Regions from separate parts of the Homo sapiens genome. Here all the other regions are linked to region 2. Evidence: promoter capture Hi-C in human tissues and cell types (Jung and others, 2019). All regions are on one chromosome and are shown on one strand. The core of a region is centred on a gene start or on the middle of the fragment in contact, and the rest is flanking DNA. Distances in the headings are between cores, read along the strand shown.

Region 1 (2,700 bases), core at 84-2,583, 89 kb before region 2:
AATTAACATTGGCTATTTCTCGAAGGGAGTTTCTTAGCAATCTTGAGGAATCCTAATGATGCTTGAGAGTTCTGTCTTTAACTTTGAAATAACCTATGAAAATAGAAAATATTCTGGTTAATTAAAAATGCCAACATAACTATAATGCTTTGAGAAAAAGTATATTATCAAGGTATCTTAAAACTTCAATTTTATCCAGGTTTTGCATACTCTCAAAACTGAAAAAGTTCTTTGGAGTAAAAACAATCAGTTATTCTGTGTCTAAAGGACACTAAATTTACATTCTTTTATAAAAACAGTAGTACATCTTTAACACTTGGGGACAGCAATTATAATACTAACATTAGTATTATTTCACAAAAATAAAACTGCCCTTTATTACAAAGGTGTATTTCTTTTTTATTTTTTTGAGACGGAGTTTCGCTCTTATTGCCCAGGCTGGGGTACAATGGCGTGATCTCGGCCCACCATAACCTCCACCTCCCAGGTTCAAGCGATTCTCCTGCCTCAGCCTCCCGAGTAGCTGGGATTACAGGCATGCAACACCACACCCGGCTAATTTTGTATTTTTAGTAGAGACGGAGTTTCTCCATGTTGGTAAGGCTGGTCTCGAACTCCCGACCTCAGGTGATCCACCCACCTCAGCCTCCCAAAGTGCTGGGATTACAGGTGTGAGCCACTGCGCCCAGCACAAAGGTGTATTTCTGATTGACTACTTGTTAAGTTCTTTAGAACAATGTATTTATCAGCAGAACTAATCAGCTAAAGACAAATTACTTAACATTTTTATGAATTAAAAATACCAGTGCTATGTGTTAACTTTTACCTAATCAAAATATGATTTTGAATACATGAATTCTTTTGGGAAAGAAGACTTCATAGTAAGTTGATACTGTCTTAAAACTTTGATAATTTGGGGTGCTCTAACTTAGATGGTGTTCATACTTGTACTACTCTTCTTGCTCATGAGACTACTGAGAAGATTCTGTGGTCCCTGGATACCTAACAATGGCCTTTTTTCACTTTATTCTCTCACTCAACATCCATTTAGAGCTTCAATATGTATCCAATTTTCTGACTGAATTATTTTGATCTAGTCAGTTGCTTAAGTTGAAAAAAAATTTCTGGGCATCTTAAGCTTTATATCAATCAGGGACTACCTAGTACTAAATTTTATGTTGAGAGTTTGCAAGATTAGCAAAAAATGATTTTACATAAGGAAAATTTTAAATGTTATATAGTTTGTTACTTCAGACATAGTATCTATAGCCCACAACATTTTTTGTGATGTACATGATTTTACTGTATTTTATGTACTTTAAGATGTGTTTTCTATAAAAAAAATTGAAGTTATCTTCTGGTTTCATGGGGACTAATTAGCTTGAGATGCCATCTAGTTTCAAACATTTGCTTAAAAACCTGAAGTTCCTTTGTAAGGTGGCTATAACCTGCTTTCCTGTTGTCTTTCTTGTTATTTTCATGCATCTTTTTTTTGAGCCTCATGAAATACATGTACTTTCTTTTAACCTACTCTACTACATTGCTGGTAAGGTTGTTCATTCTGCCTTCTATCTTCTATCATCTCTTCTCTAAAGTCTGCTAATATCCTCACATGGAGCTTCTACTGAACTTCTATCTCAAACCTGTCTTTTATGTGTTATAGTCATTCCATATATGTTATACCTTGTATGATAGTTATTTTGTTACATATAGCTATGTTTGATTTTATATTTTTTCTTTTTTTTTTTTTGAGACGGAGTCTCACTCTGTCGCCCAGGCTGGAATGCAGTGGCACGATCTCGGCTCACTGCAAGCTCCACCTGCCGGGTTCACGCCATTCTCCTGCCTCAGCCTCCCGAGTAGCTGGGACTACAGGCGCCCGCCACCACGCCCGGCTAATTTTTGTATTTTTAGTAGAGACGGGGTTTCACTGTGTTAGCCAGGATGGACTTGATCTCCTGACCTCGTGATCCACCCACCTTGGCCTCCCAAAGTGCTGGGATTACAGGCTTGATCCACCACGCCCGGCCGATTTTATATTTTTTCAAAACATTTATCTCAATATGTCCCAAATGGCAAGTGCATAAAGCGTTTGTCAAGTGAAGTTTTTTCTTGAGCACTTGTATGTGTCACTAGCGTTAACTACAGAATGCTGTGTGTATTTCAGTGGCCTCCAATACTATGACATCTGTATTAAGCCATGTATGCATCTCATTAGGAGTATTAGAACCAGTGTCTTTCCTATGAATTCAATTTCAGTAATATAGTATCACTGCAATTAACTGGAAGGATAGTACATTCACATTTTATGTAAAATAAAATAACCACCCCCCAAACTCTAATACTACTTTGACAGAAGCTCTAAATTGCTATGATACCAAATAGAAGCTAAACTATGCAATTAATACAAAATCACTAATGTATGAGATGCTATTATAAGTGAGGTAATGTAGGTGAAATGAATAGTCCTTCTTAGCTGCAATAATTAGCCAATTTAAGTTTTCCAAGCCTACTATGTCTTGCTGATACTATATATAGGTTTGAAAGAACAGGTTTTGGAAATACGTTTTGTCTTTTTTTCCTTTTTTGAGATGGAGTTTCACTCTTGTCACCCAGGCTGGAGTGCAAAGGTGTGATCTCGGCTCACTGCAACCTCTGCCTCCCAGGTTCAAGCAACTCTCCTGTCTCAGCCTCCCAAGT
Region 2 (2,700 bases), core at 78-2,577:
CACATTTTGACATATTTTTAAAAGGATGTTGGTTCCCAAATCTCATAGGCATATATAAATAAAACAGAATTTAAAAGGTATTACCTTGTTCAAAATCTGTATGAGCAGATCAATCAGATTATAACACATACAATTATAAAATATGGCATGAGAAGAATACAAGAAAATAAAGTATAATACTCTGCAACTAAAAGTATAATATTCTGGAAGTTTACGCCTTTAGGTATTAAATGTTTTATATGTGATAACTGAAATAATACATTAATTTTCTATGAAGAAAAACATTGTGTTAGAAAAAAACCAGCTAGACCAAATAATGCTTTAGAATTAATTCTACAAATTTACTGACAGGAGAGAAACCCTGAGGTTTTATTTTTACCTTGTTTTCTCATTAGACAGTAGAGAACACCAAGTAAAGCTTGACTTTGACATTAAAGCATTATTTTCCGTTTTAGGCTGAGTGGTTTACTTTGCATCAGGTAAACTAAACTGTCTGCCACGTTTTCTTTGTAGCTAGAGTTAGAAGTTGGTAATTCCTAAGCCAAGTTCTCAGCTTTGGAAAACGTGCTCAAAATGCCTGGAAACTGAGGAGTGAGCATTAGGAAGACTTCCCCTGTCTGGGCTGATAGGAGCGGCTCCAGTTTGGCCAACGCAGGTCGTGCCCCGCGAACAGCGCGCTGCTGAACTTTTCATCCGGACGAGAAAAACGCTCAGATGCGCGCCAGCTCCAGGGAATGCCGGGGGGTGCCAGTCCCTCGCCTCTCCCACCCGGGACCCATCATTTGTTACGGAAGGGCGATGGGGTGTGTTTTATTTCTGTTATCACATATAAAACATTTAAAACCTAAAGGGGAGGAGGCACTCGAGCCTGGCAGCCTCGCCTTCCCTGAGCCCAGTGGCTCTCCTCGGAAAGTCGCTGCGGACCCAGAGGATGGGACACCTTTAGAGCGGACTTTGTCAAATCTCTGAGCCGCTCCGCAGCCACTTGACGGAGTTGCCGCCGCCCCCGGAGCTGGGCGCCGAAGCCCGGGAGCCAGCAGCGCCCCGTCCGCCCGCCCTCGCGCGCTTTCTGGCCGCCCTCGGCCCCGGGGCATCCACTGCGTCCCCCCGGACGCCGCCGGAGTCCCCACCTCGCAGCAAAAGCAAGAATGCCGACACCTACCCTGGTGATGACCAAAGGCTGGTTGAAGTCTATGCCCCCTGAGAGCCTGAAGCCCCAGGGCGCAGGGCCCGGGAGGATCACCGTCTGGGGCATGCCGCCTTCCTCCCGCCCACCGGGCTCTAAGTGTCCCCGCGCAGGGCAGCCACTCCGCGCCGGGCGGCGTCCTGGCCCCGACCCGGGCGGGGGCGCTTTATCCCCGCTGGGGGTGACGTCACCGCCCCGCCGTCCTCCCCGCCCCCTCCCACCCCGGAGAGCTCCAACTTTGGAAGCGAGAGCCGCGCCAGCCCCGCGGGAGTGCGCAGCCCGGCCGGCTGGGGCAGCCTCCCGGGCCGCGGCGGGCGCGGGGGCTTCGGGTTACAGCGTCCGTCGCTCTCTTGAAGTCACACCTGTCTCCCTGTTTATCTTCTGCTTGGAGCGCAGCAGTGCACTTTGTTGGAAGCGAAAGCAGCCAGACCACAGCCTCCATGCTTTCAATTAAAACGAGCATCATCGATACAATAAGTTATTTAGCAGTTTCGAGTGCGTTAATATTTACTTACGACCTCTGCGGCTTTGGCCAAATTACTTAATGTCCTTTTAAATTTTTATTTTATTTATTTATTTTTCTTAGAGACCGGGTCTCCACTTTGTTGCCCAGGCTAGTCTTGAACTCCTGGGCTCAAACAATCTTCCCACCTCAGCCTCCCAAAGTGCAGGAGAGTCTGGCCGGGGTCCTGTGGTAGTCTCAGTGTGGACTCAAGTATTTCTGGTGTTACGCGTTGGGATGTTGTGATTCCCAAAGGGAGAGGGGAGAATGAGGGAAGAGAAATAAGAAATGCTTTAAACACTCAAGAATAAGGGTCTTGGACTTAATGCCCCATATGATAGGGTCGTATTGGTCCAGGAGGACAGAGCTGCAGCAGACTTTTAAGAGGGCAGTCTGTTTGGAAGCAGTTTTAAGACTGATGGAGGAAAGAGAAAGGAGATGCAGAAAGCAGTAAGCAGTAAGCAGTAAGCAAAGCGAACCAGCCTGGGCAAATGTAAATCACAAAGGTAGGATGGGCATTACTTTGTCCGCTGTGGTGGATTACATAAAAGTCCCAGGGGATAAGCACTTTCTAGCTCCACACATTTCCCAGTGCCCCATCTATGCTGGACCATCGAGGAGCTGAACATTGTGTGTCCTGCTGACTGCCTGTTTGGGCTGTGGCTGTATCACTGCAGAGCACATTTCTTCAGTCAGCTGCTGGCTCTGTCTGCGTGGTGCAGACATACACGTGCACACACACAGAGGTCCATTCAGAAAAAAAAAATCAGACAAGTCATTTGGTGTTGTGTAATTATAGTAATTGTTTTTACCTTACTTCACGAGCTGGCTTATATAAACAGCTGATTTTTTCTTTGCCTTTTTGCTGGTCATTTTGGCATCATTTAGATGTAGCCAATATCTATACAATATCCACATAATATCTGATGAGTTCTTTCTTTTTGTTTTTTTTTTTTTTTTTTGGAGACAGAGTCTTAATCTGTCACCCAGGCTTGATGAGTTCCTAAGGCTT
Region 3 (2,700 bases), core at 26-2,525, 110 kb after region 2:
ACGCATATGCCACTGATTCCTAAGGAAGATCTCTTTGCCAGGGTCTTGGGAAGATTTTTGTTCAAACAGTACTACCCCCCTGCCTTCTCTGTATCCCAGGGAATCGTGGAATTATGAGTCACTACTAATAGCAGTGTGTCAAACCCCTCCAAGAATGTTTTGAGACCCACTGGGCCTTTTGCACTAGAAATATATAGGCTTCATGGATAAACAACAGAACAAGGATTCAGTCCCTCACCAACTTTTTCCACTGACTGCAAGGGTGAAACCTGTGTTCCTTCATTCACTTAGAAATTCCACGAATGCATATTCACTGAACACCTGCTACAGGCCAGGCATCGTCCCAGGTGTTGGGATACAACTGGTGGACCAGTCACAGCCCTCGCCTTCAAGAAGCTCAAGATCTCATGAGGAACACAGTGTGCCATGGGCACACAGCAGGGAGAGCCTCCAACCTAATGCAGAGGAGTCAGGCACATTCCCTGGGGGAGGTGGGACTGTGCTGGGACCTGGAGGATGGGATAGAATTCTCCATGTGAAGGAAGAGGTGGTGGGGAGAGCTTTTCCTGGTGGGGAGGTGCAGCCTTTACAGAGGCCCAGCAATGCGGGAATTGAAAGTTCTCTGTGCAGCTGGAACCTAGCGAGGCAGGGAGGGTGGGAGGAGAGATGAGGCTGGAGAGGTCAGCTGGAGCCCAGTCACAGGTCTTCTATAAATTATGCTCAGGGTTTCAGATTTTGCTCGAAGGACAGTGAAGAGCCAGAGAAAATTTTGAGCTGGAGGTTTTATAAAGATTTTCTAAAGATTGCCTTCGCTGTGGTGTGGAGACTAGACTGGAGAGGTAGGGAAATGAATCAGGTGGCTGTCACTGTAGCCCAGGCACGGACAATTGTGGGCCAGAAGAGAGGAGCAGCAGTGGCACTTCTCCTGGCAGGCGACACTGAGTCCACTGCAGGAGAGGGGAAAACCCAAGATGACCCTTTGGAAAAGTGGGCAGATGGAGAGGCCATGTAGAGATTCAAAAGAGCAACACAGAATTGCCCAGGTGTTGTGTATATTTTTCAAAAATTGAAAATGAAAAGAGCAAAGGAATGCTTCCAAGGCATCTTGGAGTCAAAAGACATGAGAATGCATGAATAAGACCTTGATACCCCTCAGCGCTGGCCATCGCTGCGACGCCACTCTCATTCAGCACGCCTGCTCTTCAACCTCTAGCCTGTATTTTCAACACTTCAGAATCTTATGTAAACTATATCAGTACGCGGCCAGTCTCTACATCACCACGGCCCACTTGGCTCTTTTTGTTTTCTAATTTATAGAGGCAATTGAAACGAAGTCAGGACTAATTTTTTTAAAAAGATGATGAGCTGGTCCTACACTGGAAAGGCTGGCCAACATGTCCCATATGGCCAGCTCAAACCATTCTGCTTAAGGCTGGTCCTCTCCAAAATTGTTTAGGAGGGTTAACATTTTTGGTTCTTTCTATTTCTCCATAAGATAGCCATTCTCACTTCCTTCCAAGTTTCTAAGTTCCTTCTACTTATCTTCTCCTGTGGCTGCAGAGACCTATCCACACTCGAATCTCTGTCACACTCATGGCTCCAGAGTTTCCTGTCTTACAACCAGTCACATCTACTGGTCCTGTGTGGTAACTACTTAGGGCCTAAGTTTCTGATAAAGTAAATCAAGTATACTTTATTGTAAATTAGCCAATAAATAAATTAATTTATACTGCAAAATCATCAAATAAGGGAATCAAATAACTGCTACTTCAATGTGTTTCCTGCTCAGCCACACCTGGAGTGGCTGTACAGCAGCGACCAAGTGCACCAGGCATCAGTATGCCTGGGCTCAACTCCTAGTTCTGGCTCCCACCATGTGTCCCTGGGGCAAGGCGAGCTAATGTGTGTTTCAGTCTCTTCATCTGTAACATGGAAATGCCATGTGTCTGCTTAATAGGGCTGCTGGAAACTTTACATGAGATAAGGCATAAATTACTAATTACAGCGCCTGGCATATAGTGAGTGCTCAATAAAGATTTACAATGATTGCTATTGCTATTATTATTGCTATTGTAAAACGAGGAGTCTTTAAAGTCTTTTTTAACCCAAAGACAAGAGTAATGTGACAATTTCAATAACAATGATAGGGTCAATGTATAAACCCTAAAGGGAGCAAAGGGAGGGTTTTTTAGGTGTGCGTCTGTTTTAACCATATAAGAGGCTGTTTACTTTGCACAAACTCAGATCTAGTCTTGCATAGATATTAAATGATAGACTTGAAGTTCCTCAAGGTAGAGAGTGTGTCCTGTTCCCCGCTGTGCACCTCACATAAAGCCTGGCATGTAGCTGGTGCTCAGTCAGTTTTACTGAATGACTAAATAATAGAAACATCGTGGTGGGAGAGCGTCTAAAACCAATCCTGTTTCCTGACACCACGGCTACCAAAGCATTCCAATACCATTACCATGTTCGTTATCCTAAGAGTCTCATAAATTACTAGAAAGATCATTAAAATTTTGTTATTTAATTTAAATCTGAGATATATTATTTCACTGTTTTCAATTTTCTGCAATGATGACATTGTGTTTCACTCAATTCTCATTCTGGAAATTTCAGAGTAGCATGATACTCAATCACAGAAACTAGTAAATGGGTTACAAGTTTGCAATGGTGCCTGCAAATCAGTGATTTTTTTTTTCT
Region 4 (2,700 bases), core at 18-2,517, 69 kb before region 2:
TTTATTTAAACACGAAGATAGGATATCATTCTCATAAATGTATTCAGCCTTCAACTCTATTCTGAGTGATGTAACTGTTCAAAATTCTATCTCCTTCCCATACCTACAGGAATAGCTTCCTTTTTCTGTACAGATTTCCTTTCATTAGGAGGATTTGCAAGTTCAAAGCTAAATATAAGATTCCTTTAGCTAAAACCAAATAAGAAATATGAGACCAAAAGAAATGTACAGACTTAATAAAGGGATACAGTAAATCAAAGATTTCAAAGAAAGCAATGGGATTTATACATGTTGTCTACATATATTTTCCATCTTCCATCTCTTCTTCCTTTTTTGGCCTCACCGTGATTGCACTGTTACTAAGCAGCTTAGTGGACCCATGGGAGCACAAGATGAGGACACGTCGGAGCAGGAGACAGGGGCTAGGTTATGCAGAGCCTCCAGGCCAAGCTGAGCGGGTTGGCTTTTCCTTCAAGTGAAACGGGGAACTTTGGAAGGTTTCCATCATGAGAATGATTTGATCTGACTGAAAAGTTTACAGGTCACTCTGCTACATGATAATAGAGTATGGGGTGGGGTGAGAAGGCAATTGCAGGGCTACCGCAATAATCTAAGTGGAGATGAAGATATCTTGGACTAGAATGGTGGTGGGGGAGGTGGGGAAAGCAGGTAGATTCAGAATATACTTTGGAGATGAAGCCAGCAGCATTGCTGGAGGATTCGTTGGGGCCAGGAGAGATGAATGAATGATGGCTCCTTGTTTTTTGGTGAGAGCAGATGGATGAGGGATGATGTCATTTACTGGGGGAAAACAGTAGAGTAGGAACATACTTTAGGAGAAAAACATTTTTAGATATGTTAAGGCTAGGTTGTCTGTTAAACATCAAAGAAGAGATATCCAATAGTCAGGTGGGTCTACCAGTGTATGATTCATGGGAGCAGCAATGAACACATCATTCAACATGGATGGGCCGGGTGCAGTGGCTCGCACCTGTAATCCCAGCACTTTGGGAGGCCTAGGCGGGCAGATCACGAGGTCAGGAGATCGAGACCATCCTGGCTAACATGGTGAAACCCTGTCTCTACTAAAAATACAAAAAATTTGCTGGGTGTGGTGGCATGTGCCTGTAATCCCAGCTACTCGGGAGGCTGAGGCAGGAGAATCGTTTGAACGTGGGAGGTGGAGGTTGCAGTGAGCCGAGATTGTGCCACTGCACTCCAGCCTGGGAGACAAGAGCGAAACTCCATCTAAAATAAATAAATAAACAAACAAACATAGATGTCACTGCTGGCCATGCAGAAGGACATGCATAGAAGCCCGAACGAAGTGCTTGAGGAGAGAATGGAATGTGGAGATTGGTGGGCATGGAGGATAGGTCACTGTTTCTAGTTTCACTGTGGAAGGGAAGACAGTGCATCCTGGAAGAGATGTGAAAGTCAAGAGGGATTTTTTTTCTTTTTTTGAGATGGAGTCTCACTCTGTTGCCCAGGCTGGAGTGCAGTGGCATGATCTTGGCTCACTGCAGCCTCCACCTCCAAGGCTCAAGCGATCCTCCCATGTCAGCCTCCGGAGTAGCTGGGACCACAGGTGTGTGCCACCACATCTGGCTAAGAGAAGGAATTTTTTTTTTTTTAAACCACAGGACATTCTAACATGCTTGTTTGCTGCTGGAATCACATAGTAGAAAGGGAGAAAAGCAATAATTCCGGACAATGAGGGAGGCTAATTGCAGAAGCTGGGACTTGAGAATTCCACAAGAGATGAGATCCAGAGGAAATCACTTTTGATTGATCAAGGACAATTCTTCCGTTGAAATGGGAGAAGACCTAGAATATGGGTTTCACAAATGTGAAGGGTGAGAATGAAGGAGTTTGGGTCTGAGTGCTTCTACTTTTTTCATATAGAGTGGGACCATGTTATGAGTGGAGCGGCCAGGGAGAAACGTGTTCAAGATTTGAGAACAGGAGGAGTGAAATAGCTTTTTTGCAGAGGATTTGAAGAAGAATTTTCTGTGGAAATAAAGTAAGTTTTCCCAATAGCATTGAGAGTGCATTTTAGATTCATGGTATGACTCAAAAGTGAGTGTTTTTCTCCAGCAAAGTTCAGATGATTCTGCACAGGCAGAGAGTAGGCAGGGAGTCGGATTCATCTATTTTTAAAAGCTATTAACATAACTTTCTGTTTTTCTTATGAGTTTCAGAGACATCGGCTGCTACTTATTCCCAAAGGAAAGGTAATTTAAAAACTAGGCAATACTTAGTCACACAGAATTACGTGATTCTAGAATTGGAAGGGAAATTATCAAAGAACCCAGGAGATAAAACACAATCACACTTCACCATTTACCAAGTCCCTGCTAAACATACAATATCGGGAGGCACATAAACAAAGCGGAAGGCATGGTCCCACCCACCAAGATGAGAGTTTATTGGGAATGTAAGAATATTACTCATCTCATATTCAACTTAAATTTTCCAGCTGCTTCATATTTCTGTCAAAAGTGAAAAACAAGGTAGTTATCAATGGGATGACTTTTGAGGTAATTTTTATTCTGAGCCTGCAAAAAATATTGTATTCAATGTATACAAAAAGTACCAACTGCATACCTGTAGCAAACAGACCAAGAGGAACCAATACATTCTGAAAATGCAACAGGGTAACGATTCTATATAAGATGTCAGGCTCTCTGCAAGCTTTGT

What was found. Contacts are between HindIII fragments. The study calls those that stand out against the background at their distance.
Region 1: a fragment that was not itself captured here is called in contact with the fragment with the promoter of PDLIM3 in region 2 in 2 of the 25 tissues and cell types used here (adrenal gland and neural progenitor cells).
Region 3: a contact is called between a fragment that was not itself captured here and the fragment with the promoter of PDLIM3 in region 2, in 2 of the 25 tissues and cell types used here (heart left ventricle and stomach).
Region 4: a contact is called between a fragment that was not itself captured here and the fragment with the promoter of PDLIM3 in region 2, in 3 of the 25 tissues and cell types used here (adrenal gland, heart left ventricle and thymus).

What each region holds. Positions count from the first base shown.
Region 1 is chr4:185,445,450-185,448,149 of GRCh38, forward strand. The region is part of intron 7 of CFAP96 (cilia and flagella associated protein 96); the gene reads left to right. It overlaps CCDC110 (coiled-coil domain containing 110), which reads right to left. Exons shown (of 7, transcript NM_152775.4): 7 at 1-93. The coding sequence ends at 53. Among named protein-coding and RNA genes, the nearest start is that of CFAP96, 21 kb to the left of the region's middle. The HindIII fragment of the contact is 5,331 bases long and covers 1-2,700 here.
Region 2 is chr4:185,534,180-185,536,879 of GRCh38, forward strand. PDLIM3 (PDZ and LIM domain 3) reads right to left here and starts at 1,328. Exons shown (of 8, transcript NM_014476.6): 1 at 1,163-1,328. The coding sequence starts at 1,255. The HindIII fragment of the contact is 14,334 bases long and covers 76-2,700 here.
Region 3 is chr4:185,642,709-185,645,408 of GRCh38, forward strand. All of the region lies in intron 13 of SORBS2 (sorbin and SH3 domain containing 2), which reads right to left. Among named protein-coding and RNA genes, the nearest start is that of SORBS2-AS1, 56 kb to the left of the region's middle. The HindIII fragment of the contact is 5,438 bases long and covers 1-2,700 here.
Region 4 is chr4:185,465,125-185,467,824 of GRCh38, forward strand. All of the region lies in intron 2 of CCDC110 (coiled-coil domain containing 110), which reads right to left. Among named protein-coding and RNA genes, the nearest start is that of CCDC110, 5.3 kb to the right of the region's middle. The HindIII fragment of the contact is 5,468 bases long and covers 1-2,700 here.